3 separate regions of the Homo sapiens genome follow, and all the other regions are linked to region 1. Evidence: promoter capture Hi-C in 16 types of primary human blood cells and fetal thymus (Javierre and others, 2016). All regions are on one chromosome and are shown on one strand. The core of a region is centred on a gene start or on the middle of the fragment in contact, and the rest is flanking DNA. Distances in the headings are between cores, read along the strand shown. Region 1 holds the start of ZBTB33 (zinc finger and BTB domain containing 33). Region 2 overlaps CUL4B (cullin 4B). Region 3 has its middle 120 kb from the start of CT47B1.

Evidence for each region. Contacts are between HindIII fragments. The CHiCAGO score rates a contact against its expected background, and 5 or more counts as called.
Region 2: a contact is called between a fragment that was not itself captured here and the fragment with the promoter of ZBTB33 in region 1, in 1 of 17 cell types (total CD8 T cells). The highest score is 5.6, in total CD8 T cells.
Region 3: a fragment that was not itself captured here is called in contact with the fragment with the promoter of ZBTB33 in region 1 in 1 of 17 cell types (fetal thymus); the score reaches 9.7 in fetal thymus.

What each region holds. Positions count from the first base shown.
Region 1 is chrX:120,248,816-120,252,871 of GRCh38, reverse strand. ZBTB33 (zinc finger and BTB domain containing 33) reads right to left here and starts at 2,060. Exons shown (of 3, transcript NM_001184742.2): 1 at 1,895-2,060; 2 at 102-203. It also overlaps a transcript of TMEM255A not described here. RefSeq lists an enhancer at 1,515-2,353. The HindIII fragment of the contact is 5,064 bases long and covers 1,365-4,056 here.
Region 2 is chrX:120,555,582-120,559,596 of GRCh38, reverse strand. It overlaps CUL4B (cullin 4B), which reads left to right. Exons shown (of 20, transcript NM_001079872.2): 2 at 1,558-1,673. Among named protein-coding and RNA genes, the nearest start is that of CUL4B, 3.4 kb to the left of the region's middle. The HindIII fragment of the contact is 319 bases long and covers 1,091-1,409 here.
Region 3 is chrX:120,753,731-120,758,247 of GRCh38, reverse strand. No RefSeq gene overlaps it. Among named protein-coding and RNA genes, the nearest start is that of CT47B1, 120 kb to the left of the region's middle. RefSeq lists an enhancer at 3,079-3,158. The HindIII fragment of the contact is 6,950 bases long and covers 1-4,517 here.

The DNA.
Region 1 (4,056 bases), core at 811-3,310:
TTTATAAACACTGACAATTATTACCTCCCAACGTCCCATTATTTTTCTGTTATTTAAATTGGGGTGCCTCATCTTGATAAACTATTAAACATCTTTCTTACCCTTTCCTCTTTCTTCATCCCCTTGTCCCTTCCCCTCATCTCTCCATCTTTACAATTTCCAGAGGTGGAATGTTAAACAGTGCCAAGTGAAGTCAACAGACACTATCATGAAAAAATATGACAAAGGAAAAGGAAAGTTTACCATTTCTAAATGCCCACTTCCAAGAAAACACGAAACATTTTATTTTTGTTGGTAAAGAATCATATGCATTGGTATGAGAATTTTTTCCACACCAAATGAGTTAGTGAAAATGAAAACATTAACTTATTGGAATAGACTACTCTAGAAAAAGGGGATGATGTCAGTAGAATGCATTGTTGTGTAGCACTAGCAAAACATCATTTTTTGCACTTTGCAGAAGATATTTCCAGTAACAAAGAGGCCAGAGTTTAAAAAAACCCATATATTAAAAATATATAATATCCATACATATTATATATGGATATATTTTAATATATGGATATTATATATTAACAATTAGTTGACAAGTACTTTTAGTGAAGAAATATTTTTATTAATATTCTCTCCCTTTGAAGTTACCAAAAGGGTGTCGATGTCACAATGCTTAAGTTATATACAGGTGGAGGGCAGTTCTGTCTCAAATACCTTCTAAATTTTTCAAAATGATACCTTAAGAACAAACAGCAGGCAAAAAGTCTAAAAATCAAGATTTAAAACATTATTAGAAGGTGTTGCATGTTAACAGTACCAAGGAATTCCAGGTTACCATAAAGGCATTCATCATCAGAAAGGGTGACCTTTGGACAGTTTGCCAAAAACCAGGGCTTCCGAAATACGGGCATTTCGACAGAAGTCGATATTAAGTGGAAAGACAGGTTTTCTGAAAACGGCACGCAATTTTTGTCATTTGCTCCCGGGTTCTTCCAATATGGGAATGCGTCAAATGTACGTGTCCAGGTGACACTGGGACTCGGTTTCGTTTCGTTTATGTGTCCCCCTCCTCCCACTCAGGGTGGCCCCAGAGACAGCACAAGTCGGTCTGAACCCACTCCGAAGATATGCGATTCGACTGTGGAAAAGCCATTCCACATCACTGTGAAACCCTTGACCGAGGGCCAGTTCGGAGGAGCTGGTGACGGTGGAAAGAGATAAAAGCCATCCGCGAGGGAGTGAAACAAACCGACACGCGGCTCCCTGCGGCAGCTGAACCTCATCTCCCTTCCTCCACCTCCCTCTTCCCCATATGGACCCTGCCAGCTGCAACCGAGGTTTTTAACCCCAATTCACGTGCAAAGCAAGCTTCTTGCAAATACAGACGGAGGTACAAACAGCAGAGTGAGGGCGGGAGGAATATGGGGTACCAGGGAAAGTAGAAGGTGGCGAACGGCAGGGTGGGGTGTTGGGGGGGGGATGAAGCGAAGCAGGCGGCATTGTTGTGCCCCGGGAAGGGGACGGAAGGGGAGGATGGGCCTGGCAGAAAAGCTCTAAATCAAAGTAGGGGCTAGGGGAGTAAAAGAGGCACAAAAAAGCAGCGAGAGGGGCGAGGGAAAAGCCAAGTGGGTCTCTGTGATGGATTCCCCAAGCCCCGGGGCCTACCCAGGGCACCGGCAGCCCCTCGGCCCCTAACGGCGAAGGGGACCGCGCCGCGGCCCTCGCGGCTCGTCCCCTCCTTCGCTCCCCGGCCCACACAAAGAAAGAGCCGGAGGAGCTGAGCCTCCGACTCTGCCGCTTCCTGGTTCAAGTGAGGCGAATGCAAACGCAGGCGCGGCCCAGGGACGGAGAAGGCAAGCGCGCTCCTTCGCCCCCTCCCTGATTGGGGCCGGGTCCTCACCTGCTTCCCGGCGCCGCCGCTTCTCCTCCTCCGGACGCGCGGAAGGCTGGGAGTCCCCCAACAAGAAGAAGCCGCACTCCCCAGCGATTCTGCCCCTTCTTTAAACGTCGCTCCAGTCTGGGTCGACGTCGACGCGGCCGCCGCCTCCTGCCGCCAACGCTGCTACAGCTGCCCCACGCCGCCGACAGAGGGCACAGCGCGGGGGCGAAGCGCTGAAGCCAAAGGCGCCCTCCTCTTCCGAGCGCAGGCCGGGGTGGTCCGGAAGGGCCCGAGCTTGAGGCGGCTCCACTTCGGCGCCGTGCTCTGCCTTCGGTTCTTTCCGCAAGGGGGCGGAGGAAGACTGGGAAGCTCTTGTGTGTTCGGCTCTTTCCGGAGGGCTAACGGGTGGGAAAAAAGGAAAGGGAAAGATCGGGTAAGACAGTCGCAAGCAATTGGATGGAAGGGAAGCGAGTCGTTTTCATCGAAATTCAATGTGAACTTCTAGGGCATACAAACTTTTAGAGACTATACAGGTTTCATTTATTTTGCAAGTTTGAATCTGCTCTATTAGACTGTTTGCTAGATGATAAACCATCTTGAAATATAATCAAAATACATACAATCAAATAGAAATTCACAACTTCTTATGGTAATTCAAGTTCTGGGATAACAAGAGAGCAACTACATTACAGTAACTACTTTTAAGAAAGAAATTTAGTGTTTGGACAACTATCTTCTTAATTGAATACTAAATGGTGCAGTACTATGTTAATTCCCTCATTCCAACTAGCATTTACTGACCCCCTGCTTGATCTGTAGCAAAAACCCTATGTTAGGCTCTCGGGAATACAAAAATGAATAACCCAAAGGTCTCTACCTCTTTAGGGAGCTCAGTAGGTAGGTACACAAACATGGACAAAAATATTTGTACAAGGTGTAGAAGCAGAGAGAAGAGAATAGCAAATTGAATGCTGTCATTTGACCTGTATCTTGAAAGATTAATAATATTAACACTTGCATTTTTAATTTTTTATTGTTACTATTTTAATTTTTTATTATTACTATTTCCATAACATTTCATCTTCAGAGGGCTTTAGTGTCTGACACATAGTATGTGTTCAGTGATTGTTTAATGACCGAAAAAATACATTGTGAGTTACATAATTTTTTAAAATCCTCTGGTAATACCCTTCCAACTGAGTACCATAATAAATGAAGCAACAGGATGGGTGTTTGGAGAGCAAAATGTTTCCCTTTTAGGCTGGTTATTGATCGTATTCAACTAAGGAACCAAATAGTAACTTTTTTTCTGCCATAATTAAGGCCATTCACTACCTTCATTATCTTTTTAAAAAGATATATATAGGATAATACTGCATTCATTTCCAAAATCTTAAATTTGTACCTATTAATACCTTGCAGTGGAATTCCTGTGCTTCTTTCCTAAAAAATCTTGCTGAAAATGTCCATCAGGATATTAGACTGAAAACAGATGTAACTATATCTAATTTTCTCTGACAGGAAATCAGACATGGATGTCATCATCTCATCTACCTATCCCTAATCTATTCTTCATCCTCCTCAATAAAGTAAAGCCACATGGTATAATAAAACATCAAAGTGGTATAATATAGCTGTATTTCACATGGAAATATGCAATTCCTTAAGCTCTTCTCCAAGATTTTGTATTGTGGGAAAACAAACTATGTGGGAATTATTGCATTATTGATTTTTGATTAGGACTTAGCATTATGAAAAGTTTCATTGTTTACTATAAAGATATTTCATGGCAAATAGAAGTATGCTGTTGTAAAATAAACTAAGGCAGATTAGTATTTTTCCTGGCAACTGAGTACTTAATAACCATTTTTCTGAGTTATCCTCCCCAAAACTTAGTAGTAAAAAAAAAAATCTTAGTAATTAGAACAAAGTATATCTTGAAAGTTTAGGATCTATTTATCTTTCAGTGGCTTAATTGATGAAAACTAAAATGAGACATATCTTTGAAATACAGATCACAGTGGCAATAGATGCCACTCTAGATATCATGTTTGTTGGTCAGCTCTCAGTAAACTGGAAGGCACAATGCAATTTATTTTGTACCAGCATTTACATCACTGAGGCTGGCAACAGAATTGCCATGCCATTGTCACTTTCCTGAAAGTATTTTAAAAGTTTGGAGT
Region 2 (4,015 bases), core at 1-2,500, 310 kb before region 1:
GAAACTCATTTGGAAGGAATATTTGAAGAAAAATTTATGTTCTCTGCATTTCTTTCCAAAGGTAGGGTTTGAAAGTGAAAAACATTGTGTATACACAGAAGTAGTAACTCTGTGTACCACTAGTCTAAAGATAGGAACAATTACTACATCTATTTTTTCCATCACTAAAATGGATTTTAAAGTATCGACCTGCAGCTTTTAGGAAAATTTGTTCAGACCGTGTTTGAGATATGTGAGGAGAGTATTATGAATACATTGAGGCAAATATAAAATCAGCAATTTTTAAAAATGTATTTGAGCTGAATTAATTTTTATTTGTTGAATGTGTTTCTGTTTTTCTGACTTACTTTTTCAACACCCGTAACTGCCAGGTAATCAGTGCTACAGTGTTTATTAAATAGAGAAGTAAATGAATGAACTTAAGTAATATTTATGAGATAAGTGCTTTGTGGCTGAATATTAGTATTGAGAAGATTAGGTTCTCTATGCTTGTGTTTTTAACATTGTGTGGAAATCAGGAGTATGCTCTATTTTGTCTCAAGCAGAGGGCTATGGTGTTGTCTATTTTTAACCCTTTCTTTTTTATATCACTACCTTCCCATACCCAGGCTCTCAGTTTCTGATTTAATAGTAGAGCTTTCTGAAGTCAATATGAATTGTAATTGAGTAACGTTTTCATTATTTCACTTAAAAATATATGGATTTTGTAGCTAAAGATTTTTAAATGAGTTATGATCCTGGTTGCATTTTCAAATTGGTTTCAGAGATTTTTTTCTCTCCCTCCTAAAATAAAAGCATATTATTAAGGCATTTGGATATTCTAATTAAAACTTTTTTCCCCACACTCATTGCTAGTCAGTGAAGTTTAAAGCCTAGAGTAAGATGTTTCTTTCTATTCTGAAAATGCAACATGGTTTCTGGAGTCATTTCTTTCAGTCTTTAAAAATTTCACTCTGCTCGTAAATGTAGTTTAAAACCTGAGTTAAGATGTTTCCATTTCTATAGATGCTGCATAAATGTGGGGGTCAAACAGACCTGAATTAGAATCCCAGCTTTGCCATTGACTAGCTATGATGACCTTGGGCAAGCTTACTAAATGAGTTCCAGCCTCAGTTTCCTCGGTTGTAAAATAGATTCCTCAGGGTATTGTTGGGAAGATTAAGAGGCTTATAAAGTACCTTGCACATAGACAGTACTTTAAATCTCAGGTTAAAAATTCATGTCGACTTAGGTTTTACACATGATGAAATAAGATCAGGATTGTTATTTTTTATGGTCATTCTTGAATTTTTATTTTTTTGAAGCAATACAATCAATAGGAGAAAAACCTCACCTTCAATTTTAATAGGTGAGTCAAAATGACTTAAACAGTATTATGGCATTTCAAATTTTATTCTTTATATTAAGCTTAAATACAGTGGTTACTTTAATGATTAGGTGTAATAGTTATAAAGATCACAATTTACCCTAAAATTAGTAATGCTATTATATTTTATGAATCTTTGGTTACTGTATCTGACATGGTATTCTGATGCCAACCTTTTACATATCATCTAGATAAGCCTAAATTACCAGAAAACTACACAGATGAAACCTGGCAAAAACTGAAAGAAGCAGTGGAAGCTATTCAGAATAGTACTTCAATTAAGTACAATTTAGAAGAACTCTACCAGGTATGTATTAATATGCATAACCAGATTTGATTAACATAAATTGAGGTGGGATGTATATGGATTTTGCTTTCTGAAATAGGTTCTTAAGTAGACTTTTGGTTCCCTTCTAATTTTAGTTTCTCCATTAATTGATGAACTCTATAATTAGACCACGTATTCTCACATAAACCATGGGTACAGTCATACCAGTATAAGTTGTGCTTATATTTGACCCTCCTGATAAGAAATTACAGTTACGTGTACCTTGGTGTAATAGAAGTTCTACCTATAATGTAATCCTATAGCATGAATCCCAAAGATGATTTCTGGTGACATGTCATTCTATTGTGATAATTGTTTCTTAGTTGTGTTACCTACCCATAGGAAAGGCCTCAAGACATGCAGATATTATTCATATCCTTTATTCTACCTCCTTCTTAATAGTAGACTTTGCCATTTCTTTTTCTTGCTCTTTACATTTTTCTAATACCTGGGCTACAAGACGCACCTTAGCCCAGAAATGAGTAGCAGTTTGTAGTCCAGCAGCTTAGTCTGAGGTTCAGATTCTTTACTTAGCAAATGGGTCCTTACACTTAAATATAATTTTAAGGGCAGTTCCTAAGGGCAATCCCTTGCTACCAAGAAATTTTTCCCTACTGTGTATTTGACACACAACCAATTCAAGAAGTTACTTTCATTAGAGTGTCAGGGATTTGGTGTTAAAAGATACTTCAGGCCGGGCACGGTGGCTCACACCTGTAATCCCAGCACTTTGGGAGGCCAAGGCTGGCAGATCACCTGAGGTCAGGAGTTCGAGACCAGCCTGACCAACATGGAGAAACCCCGTCTCTACTAAAAATACAAAATTAGCCAGGCAATGTGGTGCATGCCTGTAATCCCAGCTACTCAGGAGGCTGAGGCAGGAGAATCGCTTGAACCCAGGAGGTAGAGGTTGCGGTGAGCCGAGATTGCACCATTGCACTCCAGCCTGGGCAACAAGAGTGAAACTCCATCTCAAAAAAAAAAAAAAATATATATATACTTCAGAGTACAATAGCTTGAATTTTTGTATTGATGAGTACCTTGTAAGAAATTATGTTGGTTTTATTTATCAGTATTTGTATATTTTAGTTGCAGAGCTAGTATGGTGATGGGTAAACCTGGATTAGGAGTCAGAAGATGGGTTTGGGATCTAGTTTTGACTGCTGTTACCCTCATAATCTTGGGCCAGGTACTAAAGCCCTCTCAGTTTTTTTTCCTGTTTTTTTAAGAGATAGGGGTCTTGCTATGTTGCCCAGGCTGGTCTTGAACTCCAGGGCTACAGCAGTCTTGTCACCTCAACCTCCCAAGGTGCTGAGATTACAGGCATGAGCTACCAAACCCAGCCGTCACTCTCAATTTAAATTTCCTCCTCTCTAAAGTAGAGGAAATAATAGTTTGCCCTACCTGTCTCACAAGGTTGCTGATAAGAATCAAATAAGATATTTGTGGAAAACGCCTCCAGGCACTATAATCTTACAAATATAAGATGGTATCACGAGTCAAACTTTTTTACAAGCCACATTATAGCTTCTTCACTTGTAGTATGACAATTGAGATCACCAGTTTCTGTTGCTGTGAAAATTAGTACACGCAAAATACTCAAATCAGTGCACAACACATAGTAATAATGCCGTGTAACATTATAAGCATTATAATGCTATGCAAATGTCGGCTAGTAGTTGTAGTACTAAGCTATTACTTAAGAATAAGCCCATTTCATATGGCTCTTTTGGCGTATTATATATGCGTCTCTTAAAATGTACAACAATAAAAGCCAAAATATGAAACTGACTTGGAAAGGCCTTAAGAGAGCATGTGGTCCAATATTTTTTCTTTGTGGTGTCCATGACAGCCTGCAAAGGGGATTCATCTCGTATTATCTCATATAAGCATTATGGAAACCCTTTCTGGGGTACGTAGGGTAGTAGTTACTATCCCCACTTTTTTTTTTTTTTTTTTTTGAGATGGAGTCTTGCTATGTCACTCAGGCTGGAGTGCAGTGGCGTGATCTCGGCTCACTGCAACCTCCACCTCCCGGGCTCAAGTGATCCTCTTGCCTCAGCTTCCCAAGTAGGTGGAATTACAGGCGCCTGCCACCACGCCCTGCTAGTTTTTGTATTTTTAGTAGAGACAGGGTTTCACCATGTTGGCCGGGCTGATCTCGAACTCCTGACCTCAAGTGATCCACCCGCCTCCACCTCCCAAGGTGCTGGGATTACAGGTGTGAGCCACCGCGCCTGGCCTATCCCCACTTTATTGATGAGGAGACTGAGTCTCAGAGAAGTTGAATAACCTGCCCAGAGTCACATATTGGCAGAGCA
Region 3 (4,517 bases), core at 523-3,022, 510 kb before region 1:
TGGGCTATTAAGGCTGCTATAACAAAATACCATTAAATGGGTACCTTATGAACAGAAATTTATTTCTCATAGTTCCAGAGGCTGGGAAGTCAAAGATCAAGGTGCCAGCAGATCCAGTGTCTGGTGAGGGCTCATTCTCTGCTTCAAAGATGGCACCTTCTTGCTGTGTCCTCACATGGTGTAAGAGACTAGCTAGCTCTCTGGGGTTTCTTTTATAAGGGCACTTAATCCCTTCATGAATGGGATGAATCTCCTTCCAAAAGCCCTCCTCTTAATATTATCACAATGGAAGTTAGGTTTCAACACATGAATTGTTGCGGGAACACAAATATTCAGAACACAGCAGAGGCCATATGAGCACTTTTTTTCAGTAGAAAAAAAAAGCCCCATGTTTTCAAACAGCTACTTAAGCACCAAGAAAACCTTCCTCAAATTAGATCCCCATTTGCTCAAAGTCTTCTCTGTTTAAAATTGGCAGTGGGCAAACTGACCACTGGTTTTAGTCCTTGATTCTAATAATCTAATTTGCCCAAAGGATTATGTGCAGTGCACAGCTGGGGCTTTTCTATCCATGGGAAATAAATTATCACTCTCATTCCTAAACATTGGCCCTGATACCTGGGCTGGGATTCTCCCTAGGGAAGTCCTGTAATTTCATTGTGCATTAAGTCTGTATGTTCTTCTGTCTTCCTGCATTCATTTATTCACTCAAATATTTATAGAATGCCTACTATTTGCCAGTCTATTGGCTGGGTACTAATTAGAGAATAGCATCAAGCAAGATAGTCAAAATGTCTTCCCTCAAAGAGTTTATAATCTGGTTTTTTTCCTGGGTCACGTTGTTATATTCTTGACTCATACTCCTTTCCTAAGCCTCTTACCTGTACCAGGTGTTTCTACCCTCCTCCTTGGACGAGTTGTAGGCATTAAATCCAGTCCATAGGGGTCTCCTGCCTTAACCCCATCCCCAAGATCCAATGCCAGTCAGAGGATCTTGATAGGAAAGTAAAAAATCCAGACAAGTCAATATCGCTCCTTACTCTAGTCCTTTCTTTTGCCCAGTCATTATCTATCCATCTATACTCAGATTATTGAAACCCACATCACAGGAATCTGATGGACAGGTCTGTGATTGTTCCTTTTTCCTTTGTGTTCCTAGACACTCCCCAGTAAACCACCGGACTTGTATGGTGCTCTGTACATTCAAATTAGAACTATGGTCATATTACCCTCATATACAGTCTCAGACCTGTACATGAAATAAAGATATAGACATAATTCAAAACCTGTATCAATCAGTGTCCCAGCAGGAAATAGATGGCACACTCAAAATGGCTATTTTGGAGAGGGGTAAGGGTCAATATTAATAAATGGACTATTTATAAAGGTGTAGGCAGGGTAACTCAGGGCTAGGAAGAGGATTTGGAGATGCCTTTACCATCATAGCCTGACTAAGAAAAGGGAGACTTTTGATGTCATCCCTACAGGTCAGCTTCCCAGGGTAGAGTGCAGGAGGGAAGACTGGAGTGAGGACCTGAAGAGGCAGACAAAAACTATCTAGCGCAGAACTTCTCATTCAAATTTTGCAGTAATTCAGACCAGGGCTGAGATCAAGGTATTGTGCATTGATCTGGGAAAATCAGCTTTGTTAAGCAAATGAGTAGGCTCATTTTTAAACTATGAAAGAACTCATTTGCATAGAACAGTGAATGACTTTTTTAATGTATTTATTAAAATAGGCCTCACTTTGACACTTTGTTAGCATTAGATTATGTTACTAAATGTGACTGAAAAAAATGAAACGAGACTGCACTTATTTAAAACAGTCTGGATTTCAGATTTACAGCTAATTCCGATTGATTTCCTTGCACCCTGTCCCCCACCAAAAATAAAAACTGGGCATACCAAATTAAGGAGCTTCGATGCTTAAAGTAACATCATAACACTGTTATCAGTTAACTAAACACTGCTCTTCTGCAGTCCATTAGAAGAACCTAGTAACAAGAAAACAGGTTGATATTAAAACTTTTACTTTAAAAAGTAATAACAGTAAATGGACCCCATTCCCAAGGCTGCCATCACATAGCCCAGGCTCCTGACCCTCTCTCTCTGCCTCCATTTCTAACCTAGAACAGTCTTCCAAGATGGCTAGCAGGATAATGCTAAAGCCCTGTCTGAAGTCCAGAAATTAAACACAATAGAGTCCATGATGAGCAAGACACTGATCACTGAGGTTGCGTCTCAGCATCAGACAGACTAGCTTGGGCATTTATCAGCTAAGACACCTCAGGTGAGCGGTTTAATTTCTCCAAGCCTCGGTTTCCTCAACTTTAAAATGGGAATAAAGAAAACATCTACATCATCAGTTGTTACAGGGATTGCATAAGGTTCTGTGTGTAAAACACCTAGCACAGTGCCTGGCACATTACATGCACACAGTAAACACTTTGATTGTCACACTCAGAAACAAGAGCTAATTTAAAGAAAAGAGGGAAAAAAACAAAGGTGAGAAGTGGGTTACCTTTCAATTAACTAAAATGTTACATTGCCCAGACTCCCATTCCCTGAGGGATCCCATTAAATTCACATTTATGGTATTGATTTTTTTCCAGGACAACAACCATTTTACACATTAAACATCTCTACCTCCTGCTATTTTATAGGTGGCTACTATAATAAGATCTCCACTCACATCAATTCAGAAGTCTATCTTTTTCCTCTGTCAAAAGCAGGAAATAAAGCTGGATAAGAGACCTAGGTCACTATGGGGGATGGAAATGTATCTAAGAATCCCCAAAGAATAGGTCAGGAGGGGGATCTGAAGTGGAATAAGAGGCTTAAGAGGAAGAAATTCAAATTGCTATGGCAGGTTTGTTTGGCTCTTGATCCAGAGAAGCCACATCTGCAAATGTTACACACACTGTCACGTGTTAGTTACTTCCCTTTTTCAAAAGGCACAAAGTCCTAGGTCACAAACCACCCCACCCCTCCCCCTAACCCAACAAGGTGAGAGAACAGGAGAGTTCAAGAACACTCAAACAAATAATACTTCCCCAACCCCTGACATAGCCTCCCTTTTTCCATGCTTGCTACTCTATAATTTATCCTCCCCACAACAGCCAGTGTGATCCCTTTTAATTCAGATCACACCACTCCTCTGCTTAAACCCATCCAATGTCTTTTTGTCTCACTCAAATTAAAAGTCCTAATCCTTACAATGGCCTACAAGGCCCTAAGCAACTTGCTAATCTGGTGTCACTAACCCCATGAACTCTCTAACCTCATCTTCTACCTCTCTTCCCCTCACTCACTTCCCTCCAGCCACACTAGACTTCTTTTCCTAGAACACACCAAACGCACTCCTGAATCAAGATCTTTGTTCTGGCTGTGACCTCTGCCAAGAATCTCTTTCTCCAGATTTTTGCATGGCTGACACCAGAAACCTTTTACAGGTTTTCCTCATTGTCCCTTTCTCTGTGAAACTTTCTTTGACCACCCTAATTCAAATTCGATCACACATCACTTCTGGCATTCTCAATCTCCCTTCCTTACTTTCTTTTTCTTCATTGTACTTATCGTCATTTAACATAACACATATCTTATTACCTTATTGTCTGTCTTTCCCATTAAAACATCGTACTCCATGATGGTAGGGATATTTGTCTCTTTTGTTCATGGATGTATTCCCAGGGCGTATAACAATGCCTGGTACATGATAAGCACTCACTATTTGTGGAATAAGTGAATTCACCTAGTTTAAAGTAACGGCCTTACCCTTACGGCATAATGTTTAGAAAAAAAAAATGTGTGTGTGTGTCTTTTTTTAAATAAAGAAGTGGCCTTCAACCCTGACTATACATTAGAATCATCTGGGCAGAGGGCTTTTTAAATCTATTCATACCAGATAATTCAGAATCTCCAAGAGTAGGACCCAGGAATCTTTCTTCGAAGCTATATAGGTAATCCTAAGGTATAGCCAGCGTTAACTCCTGGTTTAAAAAGTCAAATAGCTCTTCTTAATAACAGCCATCTCTGGGATTACCCTTCTTAGCTCAATAATTATTTGTTAAATGAAAGAATCTAGGTGAAATTAGGTTCCAACCATCATCAAGGGGAAAAAACCAAAAGGGACAGCTAGCGGTGTTGTGAGGCAGTATTCAGTGTGCTATGATTAAGAGGTAAGACAGAGAGGCAGTGTCTACAAATAGCAGTGCTTTCCTGGGGCCGACTTAGGTCCAGGAGCTGGCTTTCCATTTTAGAGGTGAAAAACCGTATTTTGCCAGCCCACACAGGTGCGAGGTGGGATCTTCTTGACGACTCCCATTCACCAAACTTACAAGAGATTGATAACACTGCATAATTATGCAACTGCATGACTAACTCATTGGTGCTCTAGCCCTGACACAGAGAAGAACCGTACAGAGACAGTACACTGGATGCAAAGGTTTTAATTTAGGGAGAGGGAGGTGGGAAGTTAGGAGAAGATCATCTGAAAAGGGCACTGCTCAGGTAGGCAC